Linked DNA regions of Homo sapiens: region 1 is linked to region 2. The links are contacts of gene promoters, found by promoter capture Hi-C in blood cells and fetal thymus (Javierre and others, 2016). All regions are on one chromosome and are shown on one strand. Each heading gives the region's core, a stretch centred on a gene start or on the middle of the fragment in contact. The rest is flanking DNA. Distances are from core to core; before and after follow the strand shown.

Region 1 (4,912 bases), core at 441-2,940, 45 kb before region 2:
AGTGCAGTGGCACGATCTTGGCTCACTACAAGCTCCACCTCCCAGGTTCACGCCATTGTCCTGCCTCAGCCCCCTGAGTAGCTGGGACCACAGGCACCCACCACCACGCCCGGCTAATTTTTTTGTATTTTTAGTAGAGATGGGGTTTCACCCATCTTAGCCAGGATGGTCTCAGTCTCCTGACCTCGTGATCTGCCCATCTCAGCCTCCCAAAGTGCTGGGATTACAGGTGTGAGCCACTGCACCCGGCCCTTCCTTCCTTCCTTTCCTTTCCTTTTTTTTTTTTTTTTTTTTTTTTTTTTGAGATGGAGTCTCGCTCTGTCGCCCAGGCTGGAGCCCAGGCAATCTCGGCTCACTGCAACCTCTGCCTCCCGGGTTCAAGCAATTCTCCTGCCTCAGCCTCCCGCGTAGCTGGGACTACAGGCACGTGGCACCACACCCAGCTAAATTTTTGTATTTTTAGTAGAGACGGGGTTTCACCAAGTTGGCCAGGATGGTCTCCGTCTCTTGACCTCATGATCTACCTGCCTCTGCCTCCCAAAGTGCTGGGATTACAGGCGTGAGCCACCGCGCCCGGCCTCTTTTTCCCTTTCTCTGTGGTGGGCTGCATATCTTTCTCACTGTACATCCACCTTTTTACTTTCTCCTTACTTATTTGATCTCCCCTGAGGTTCGAGAATGGGGGACAAGGGACATCAGGCTGGATTCTGCTACAGGCAGAGGTCCCTGGAAGACAGCAGGGGCTGCTGTGGCAGATTCGCGATTCCTTCAGCCCGCCTTCTCCTAACTAGCTCTTGGAGGATGTGATGCAACTCAGGAACACCATGGTCCTTGCCTTCAGAGACCTCATGTCTAGCATGGGGACAGACGCGTGAGTAACCCATGGGAGGCAGGCTAGCATCAGGTGAGGGGTAGCCTTCAAAGTCCAACTGACGGCTTGGATTTTCATCCCACCCCACCACTTAACGGATGTTTGACATTGGGCAAGTTATTTCACCTCCCAGTATACCAGTTCCCACACATCTAAACTGAGTCTCTTTTTTTCTTAAAAGGTTGCTCTGAGAAATAAATAAGATGCTTAGCACAGTGCCTGGCACACAGTAATCTATGAATATCGAACTTCTGGGAAAGTAGCCAGGCTGTGATTGTACCAATCAAACAGGGACCCATGGGCTCTGGGCCTGCGGGATTTGAAGTCTTCACGAATGAAAGGCGGAGACCTGAAGGATGGGCAGTACCTCCTGGCAGAGCTGGAGGAAGGTATTCTGGGGCGTGGAAAGGTAAATTTAAACACAGAGTGGAAATCGGAGGCATATTTGGGGCATGGCAAATCGCGCTCTGTGGCTGGAAGGTCACGTTCATTGGCAAGGGGAGGAAAGGCCTTTCAGGGATGTATGCAGGCAGCCTTCTGGCACAGACGAAGGAGGTTCAAGTCCTCTCCATGGACGTGAGCTCCAAAGCGGAAGTCACAGGTCCACCATAGGACCACTGTTGAGGTTAGGCATGGCCGGAAAGGAGCTCCCTTCCCCACTATCCTCCTGCCTTCTTCAGCATGGGCCTCCTCCCAAGGCTTGGCCACTCCCAGCATCCAGCACCCCCACCTCTCAGCTGGGTTAGGAGGCAGGCGGAGGCTTTTCGCGGGGGCTGTGCCTGGTGGGCGGTTTTCCCAGAGCAGGGAGCAAACAGGACTGAGTTGGCGCCAGCTTCCTCGGATGTAGATATTGCTGGCTGGATGACCAGCCACAGCCAGCTAGCTTGAGTCCAAGGCCTCCTCAGGCACTGTGTTTCTGCTCTGTGGGCTGCAGCCCCAGTGGGGTGGCATGTCACAGAGGAAGGCCAGAGGGCCACCAGCCATGCCAGGGGTGGGGCATAGCCAGACTCAGGCCAAAGCACGGTTGCTGCCAGGCGCTGACAGGAAGAGGAGCCGCCTCAGCAGGACAAGGCAGGACCCGTGGGAAGAAAGAAGCTGGAGCAACCAGAGATGGAGCAGAGCTACCCCTGGCCCTCGAGGGACCAGGGCTGGGGGCCTGGCTCTTGGCAGGGTAAGGAAATCCTGCACCTGCAGAGGGGTCCAGGGGAGGAAGGGGTTGGAAGGTGGGGAGATGTCACCTCTGATGGTACAGCCTCACTCAGTATTACCATTCCTGCCCAAGAGAGGGGACACTGGCCCCTTAGACTCCAAGGCATCATGCTTTGGGTAGTTGGGATAGATCAGAGCTGGTCTTAACCAGAGTGCAGCTCAGAGAGCTGCACTAACTCACTTCTCTTGAGGAAACTGAGGCCGGGAAGAGGGATGTGAATTTCCCAAGGTCACTGAGCAGCAGCCAGTGGTAGGACTGGGACTTCAGCCTGTGTGCTTTGACCCCTGGTTCTGTGTCTTTCCTCTTTCCCACAGCAGCCTCGTCGTCTCAGGACCTGGCTAGGTCAAGGGTCCGCCCTCCCAAACAGGGTGTAGCTCTGAACTCCCCCTGGCCCCAGCACACCCTGATAAGCAGGATTCAGATTGGGCATGGGACAGGACAAAGGCTCTGAGGAGGCATGAGTGGAGTAGTAGAGAGAACACAGGACTCTGGGTTCTGAGCCAAGCTCTGCCATCCTGCAGCCATCTGACCCCTGGCCAGGCCTTCCCCCAACTTCCTCAGCTGTGAAACGCGGCAGGGCTGCAGATGACGTAGGTGGGCAGAGGCCCTCTGGTGCCTACTGCTAGACACCCTTCTACTCTGGTGGGAGACCTTGTGCTCAAACGCTCTCAGAAGTCAGGGCAGTTGGGAGTCCAGGTCACACACACTCACTGGGGCCCTCTGTGCAGAGCGAGGCCAGTCCTGAGAATGCCGCGCGGGAGCGGAGCCGGGTCAGGACGCTGCGCCAGGCCTTCTTGGCCTTGCAGGCTGCTCTGCCTGCCGTGCCGCCCGACACCAAGCTCTCCAAGTTGGACGTGCTGGTGCTCGCCGCCAGCTACATAGCCCACCTCACCCGCACACTCGGCCACGAGTTGCCTGGCCCTGCCTGGCCGCCCTTCCTGCGTGGACTCCGCTACTTGCACCCTCTCAAGGTAAGTCACAAGCCCTGGGACTTGAGAGGCGGATCTTAATGCCCAGGGCCTTGGAGAAAGGGATTGGAATGAGGGGGGACATTGGACTTGGGCCCCCTGCCCTGTGCAGAACTGACGTCGGAGCCAATTTCTCCTGCTGTCTCAGAGGGAGAGGAGCCAAGGCTGACCCTTGGGGCTGCGCTGACCCTGGGTTTCTCATGGGAGTGTGGCTGGAAATGGCTTCATGGGAATGCACCTCCTTGAAGAGGAGGGAAAGACTCTGGGGTTCTTAGAGTCACAGGGAAAAATGTAGCAGGTTCCAAGTCTGGGGCCTGGGAAAGGAAATTATACCAAGGAGAGTCCTAGATCCCCATGCAGCTTCAGCCCATTGTGCCTGCCTTGGTGCTTTCTAGGCTTCTGTTGCAAGAGAGGTCTGTCCTCCAGGAGAACAACGGTCTGAGGGACCGTCATTCTAGAAGCAACCAAGCTGGGGGAGTTAGCAGGCAGCAGTACAGGGAAGGCGCGCACCACTTGCCAGACTGCAATCTAGCTTTTCTCAACCTCAGTTTTATTACACGTAAAATAGAAGCTAACATGAGCCTTACTTCTCTTCCAGAGTACAAAATGGAAAGTCTAATGAACATTAATCATCTTTGCAATAACAGCTAACAGTTGAGTGCTAAAGATAGGCCAGGAGCTGGGTTAAGTACGTTAGTGTATTTTTGTCTTTTAATCCATGCAAAAACCAAATGAGGATTACTTTACAGATGAGGAAACTGAAGCTTAGGGAGGTTATGAGGCTGAAAGCGGTTTGAACTCAGGGGTGTCTGACTTCAGACCCTAAGCTCATAGCCACTAAACAGTCTCCAGGGACAGCGCCATAAGGAGCTGGTTGAAGAGTGCACTGTGTTAAAAAGGAAGGGTCATCTTTGCCCTCTGAGGATAACATTGCAGTGGTATCAACTTTTTTATTTTATTATTTATTTATATATGTACTATTATTTTTTTGAGACAGAGTTTCACTCTGTCGCCCAGGCTGGAGTGCAGTGGCGCAATCTTGGCTCACTGCAACCTCCACCTCCCGGTTCAAGTGATTCTCCTCCCTCAGCCTCCCGAGTAGGTGGGATTATAGGCGTGCACCACCATGCCCGGCTAATTTTTCTATTTTTAGTAGAGATAGGGTTTCACCACTTTGGCCAGGTTGGTCTCAAACTCCCGACCTCAGATGATCCACCCACTACGGCCTCCCAAAGTGCTGGGATTACAGGTGTGAGCCACCACACCCAACTATTTATTTATTTACTTATTGTTGAGACAGGGTCTCACTGTCGCCCATGCTGGAGTGCAGTAGCGCAATCATAGCTTACTGTACCCTCAAACTCCTGGGCTCAAGGAATCCTCCCACCTCAGCTTCCCCAGTAGCTGGGACTACAGCCTTATGCCACCACACCTGGCTTTTTTTTTTCTTTTTTTTTTTGTAGAGACGGGGTCTCACTTTGTTCCACAGGCTTGTCTCAAACTCTAAGCTCAAGTGATCCTCTCACCTCTCAACTTTATTTTTATGATACTTTTCACCACCTCTTTCCCCTAAATGTCATAGTTCTGAAATGTCTTAAAACTTGGTTTTTTTCTTCAATGCAAATGTAGCTAAAATGTATAAATTTGAGACTAAGTGGGGAACTCTGAAATGTCAGTGGTGGTGCAGGGTCCTGGGATGATATAGTAGTTTCCTTCGCTGTAAAATAGTGACCAAGGCAAGGCCCTTGCTTGTAGTAGGTGATCAACAGCTATGCTGAAGAATGAACCAATGAGGGCCCGGTTAGGTCCAGCACTCCAGCACATCCACAGGGTGGGGCAGTTGGCCAGGAAGCAGCTCCCTCA
Region 2 (5,239 bases), core at 116-2,615:
CAAAAACAAACAAACAATGGGAGCTATAAAAGACTGAGAGATTTGCGTTCATAAAATTTAAAACTTGAGTTAAAAGAAATACTAAAATAATCAAATTTAAAGGAAAAGGGAGTGAGGGGAAAAAACTGTTGACGAAATTACTATTCAGAACATATACAGAGTTCTGACAATGTTTTAAATTGACAAAGGATGTGACCAGGAAGTTGACAGAAAAATCTAAATCAAAAAAGAAGAAAAAGGAGGAGGAGAAAAGAAAGAGAAAAAAAGAGAAAGGTGCTCAAACTCAATACTAATCAAACAAAGCAAATTAAATGAGATTTTCTTTTTTGCCCATCAGATTATTGAACATTTAAGATAGCCCATCTAAAGCCACAGTTTTTGCTATGTGATGCTCTAGCTGCAGTACATTTTTAAAGGATTTATAATTTCCAGTGTGATTTTCTCTTTAATGCAGATGTTATTTAGGAGTATTTTTAAATTTCCTGATGTATAGGGCTTTAAGAAATACTTTGGCCGGGTGCAATGACTCACACCTGTAATCCTAGCACTTTGGGAGGCCAAGGTGGGCAGATTGTTTGAGCCTAGGAGTCTGAGACCAGCCCGGGCAATATGGTAAGATAAGACCTGCATCTCTGCAAAGAAAATTCAAAAGTATTAGCCAAGAGTGGTGGTGTGCACCTGTAGTCCCAGGTACTCAGGAGGCTGAGGTAGGAGGACCACTGGAGCCCAGGAGGTTAAGGCTGCAGTGAGCCATGATTGCACCATTGCACTCCAGTCTGGGTGACACAATGAGACCCTGTCTCAAGAAAAAGGAAGGAAAGAAGGAAGGAAGGAAGGAAGGAAGGAAGGAAGGAAGGAAGGAAGGAAGGGAGGGAGGGATTGATTTTAGTATTAGTAATACTGGAATTGTTCTTGTATTACTAATACTAAAATATTATCCTTTATAAATTGTATAAAAAGGCATAGAAATTCTGTGATAGCCATGTCTAAATCAAAAAGAATTTAAAAAAAAAAAGCATACAGAGATAAGAGATCAGGCCCCTCTTACCCCTGTCTCCCTTCCTGCTGGCCCCTCTCTCAGCCAGTGATCATTGTTAGTTTCTTCTATAGTACTCTAGAGATAGTTTATGCATATGCAAACAAGTGCTGACATATTTTATTTTATTTTTTGAGATGGAGTCACGCTCTGTTGCCCAGGCTGGAGTGCAGTGGTGCAATCTTGGCTCACTGCAAGCTCCGCCTCGCAGGTTCACGCCATTCTCCTGCCTCAGTCCCCCAAGTAGCTGGGACTACAGCCACCTGCAACCACGCCTGGCTAATTTTTTGTATTTTTAGTAAAGACAGGGTTTCACCGTGTTAGCCAGGACGGTCTCGATCTCCTGACCTTGTGATCTGCCTGCCTCGGCCTCCCAAAGTGCTGGGATTACAGGCATGAGCCACTGCGGCCAGCCAAGTACTGACATATTCTTTTGCTCATCATTTTTACTAGAAATGGTAGCATATTATATGTTATTCTGCATCTTGCTTTTTCTCCTTAATAATATATTGAAAATAGACAGCAATGCCAGTGATCATCATGTGATATCAATTGATTTAAAATATTTACCGTGAGATACACACATTTAATACATACATATTTGTAATGTTTAAAGTGAACATCTAGGCTGGGCTCAGTGGCTCACACCTGTAATCCCAGCACTTTGGGAGGCCGAGGCGGATGGATCACCTGAGGTCAGGAGTTCGAGACCAGCCTGGACAATGTGGTGAAACCCTGACTCTACCAAAAATACAAAAATTAGCCTGGCATGGTGGCAGGCACCTGTAATCCCAGCTACTCGGGAGGCTGAGGCAGAAGAATTGCTTGAACCTGGGAGGCTGAGGCAGAAGAATTGCTTGAACCCGTGCTGGCTAGTTTGTTAAAGTGAGCTGAGGTTGCATCATTGCACTCCAGCCTGGGTGACAAGAGCGAAACTCCGTCTCAAAGAGAAAATAAATAAATAAATGAAGTGAACCTCTATGATGTCCGCTACAACAGTGCTGGTACTTTTAAAGCTCATCCCTGACCACATCATCCACCCTCTTCCCTCAAGGAGCCACTATCCTGACCCTGGGGTTAATCATTGCCTTGCCTTTTTTTCATGGTTTTACCACCTTCTTATGGGGCCAAGAACAATAGAGCTTAATTTTTTCCATGTTGAACTTTAACAAAGAGAATCATAGTGTTTCCTTCTGTGACTGCTCTCTTTTGATCAACATTGTTCTGTCAATGTGTGTGATTGTGGTTAATTTGTTTGCCATTGCTACATAGCACCCCTGTAAGCACGTAACACTAGATCGTATGGACTTTTGGGTTGTCTCCAGATTGGGGTTATGTTTTTGTTTGTTTTGTTTTGTTTTGTTTGGCAGAGTCTTGCTCTGTTGCTCAGGCTAGAGTGCAGTGGCGCGATCTCAGCTCACGCTGGGCTCACAGACGTGCACGACCACGTATGGCTAATTTTTTCGTTTATTTTTTTTTTTTATTTTTAGTAGAAATGGGGTTTCTCCATGTTGGCCAGGCTAGTCTTGAACTCTTGAGCTCAAGTGATCTGCCCGCCTTGGCCTCTCGAAGTGCTAGGATTATAGACGTGAGCCATGGCGCCTGGCCTGAGGTTAGTGTGTTATTATGATAGTTCTTGTATGTCTCCTGGTTTAGGGCAACAGTTCCCAAAGTGTGGTCCACGAAACCCTAGGGGTCCCTGAGATGACATCAAGGGGTCGCTAAAGTTAAAACTGTTTTCTTTTTTTTTTTATTTTATTATTATACTTTAAGTTTTAGGGTACATGTGCACAATGTGCCAGTTAGTTACATATGTATACATGTGCCATGCTGGTGTGCTGCACCCATTAACTCATCATTTAGCATTAGGTATATCTCCTAATGCTATCCCTCCCCCCTCCCCCCACCCCACAACAGTCCCCAAAGGACTATAAATCATGCTGCTATAAAGACACATGCACACGTATGTTTATTGCGGCACTATTCACAATAGCAAAGACTTGGAACCAACCCAAATGTCCAACAATGATAGACTGGATTAAGAAAATGTGGCATATATACACCATGGAATACTATGCAGCCATAAAAAATGATGAGTTCATGTCCTTTGTAGGGACATGGATGAAATTGGAAAACTGTTTTCTTATACGGTAATACTAAAATGTAATTTGCCATTTTCACTCTATGGATATTTGCACTGATATTGTAAAAGCAATCTGGGTAAAACTGCAGCCATCTTAGCATGAATCAAGTCAATGGCTCCAAACTACCTTGTTTGTAATTGATGTGAGTTCTTCACATCATGTTATGGGTTGTTCCCTGGCTAACTACTTCCCCATGTAGCCCTGGCTGAGGTGAGAGGATTGCTCAAGTTGAGCCTGGGAGACAGAGGTTATGGTGAGCCAAGATGGTGACACTGCACTCCAGCCTAGGCGACAGAGCAAGGCCCTGTCTCAAAAAAAAAGAAACAAACATATATGTAATTTATGTGTGTGTTGGATCATGATGTAAAATATATTTCTTACTGTGGGTCTCAGTCAAAAAAGTTTTCAAGCCACTGCTCCAGGAAGATTCTAGAATGATATAGCACCATCGCCGCCAACTTAGCACCTCACTGTACTAGGGACTGATGTCCCAGAAAACACTCTGTGAACACAGGTAACAATATCCTATCCAAAAGGACATTGTTTTCATGACAACACAAATACAACTTGGTGGGCTACTGGGAGTCACAGACCCTCATTTTAGCTCTGCCTCAAGCACTTACCAGCCAAGCAATCCAGTTACTTTATATATTAAAAACGCAGGCGATATAGGAAGTATTTCTTTCCCAAGGAATAATATCAGGTAGTATATGAAAAGTGCTTTGAAAACTACAATGAATAATTATTACAATAACTGATATTTAAGGAATGCATATATACATATATGTACATATATGCACGCAACATAGTTTTGAGTCCTTAACCCTGTGAATTTCACATTTAACAGATGAAGAAACTGAAGCTTAAGGTTAAATGCATGCACCAGTATTTGAACCCAAGCCTTAGACTACACCCTCATAACCATCAAACAGTACTTTTTAAATGCTGCATGAAGAAAAAGGTTTACTATGTTAGAAATGAAAGAGCATCTTTGCCCTCTGTTATAAGGTTTGAAAGTTGTACGAATTGGATCTTTTTGCCACTTGCCCTTAAATATCATAACTCTTGAAAGTTTTTAATCCTGTGGCATTCTTATTTCCTCTTCTATGCAAATATAGTTAAAATGCAAGAATTTCAGATTGACACCTGGTAGAGTCCTGGGGTGGCATAGCAGTTTCTTTAGCTGTATAAAAGGTGAGGCCTGGCCAGGTGCAGTGGCTCACACCTGTAATCCCAGCACTTTGGGAGGCCAAGGCAGGTGGACCACGAGGTCAGGAGTTCAAGACCAGCCTGGCCAAGATGGTGAAACCCCGTCTCTACTAAAAATACAAAAAATTAGCTGGGCATGGTGGCGGGTGCCTGTAATCCCAGCTACTCAGGAGGCTGAGGCAGAGAATTGCTTGAACTCAGGAGGCGGAGGTTACAGTGAGCTGAGATTGCGCCACTGCACTCCAGCAAGACTCTGTCTCAAAAAAAAAAAAAAAAAAAAAAAAAAAGTGAGGCCCTTGAATGTAGTAGGTGATTGATAAATATACCGAACAAATGAGGTCCCACTTAGGTCTACAATTTTGTCAGATTGGTAGGGTAAGGTAGTTAACCAAGGAACAGTGCCCTTGGGTCCCAGGAGGAGGGACTAAGGAGAAGAGGGCAGACCTCGGGGCAGAGTCAACCTGGCATGTTCGGGGACTGTCCTCACTTCTAATGGAAGGATGCACAGTTCTTGGAGGACTTACAGAGTGCAGTTCTGGGCATTACTTACTTTACAATCCCAATGTTTGCAGATATGACCAATGTGGTATTTTTTATGTAAAGCCCTGGACCAAGGGCAGCAGTGAGGGGCATCCTGCTCTCAACTCTCCTACAGACACTGGCTTGGCCAGAAAATGGGTTCAGAGATCAGGCCCTAAGAATCCAGAGATGATCCCATTCCCTCAACAGTTCTTGGTGACAATCACCAGTCTCTCCTTCTTGTAGGGCTTGAGATATAAATCGTCCACTTCTAGTTTTTACAGACATTCTCAGTTTCTATTGCCTCCATTGGTAAGACCTTGTCCTAGAA

The links. Contacts are between HindIII fragments. The CHiCAGO score rates a contact against its expected background, and 5 or more counts as called.
Region 1: a contact is called between the fragment with the promoter of TCF23 here and a fragment that was not itself captured in region 2, in 1 of 17 cell types (M2 macrophages). The highest score is 6.4, in M2 macrophages.

Annotation. Positions count from the first base shown.
Region 1 is chr2:27,147,314-27,152,225 of GRCh38, forward strand. It overlaps TCF23 (transcription factor 23), which reads left to right and starts at 1,691. Exons shown (of 3, transcript NM_175769.3): 1 at 1,691-2,042; 2 at 2,810-3,052. The coding sequence starts at 1,821. The HindIII fragment of the contact is 12,568 bases long and covers 1-3,811 here.
Region 2 is chr2:27,192,830-27,198,068 of GRCh38, forward strand. No RefSeq gene overlaps it. Among named protein-coding and RNA genes, the nearest start is that of ATRAID, 17 kb to the right of the region's middle. RefSeq lists a silencer at 5,038-5,238. The HindIII fragment of the contact is 5,350 bases long and covers 1-4,040 here.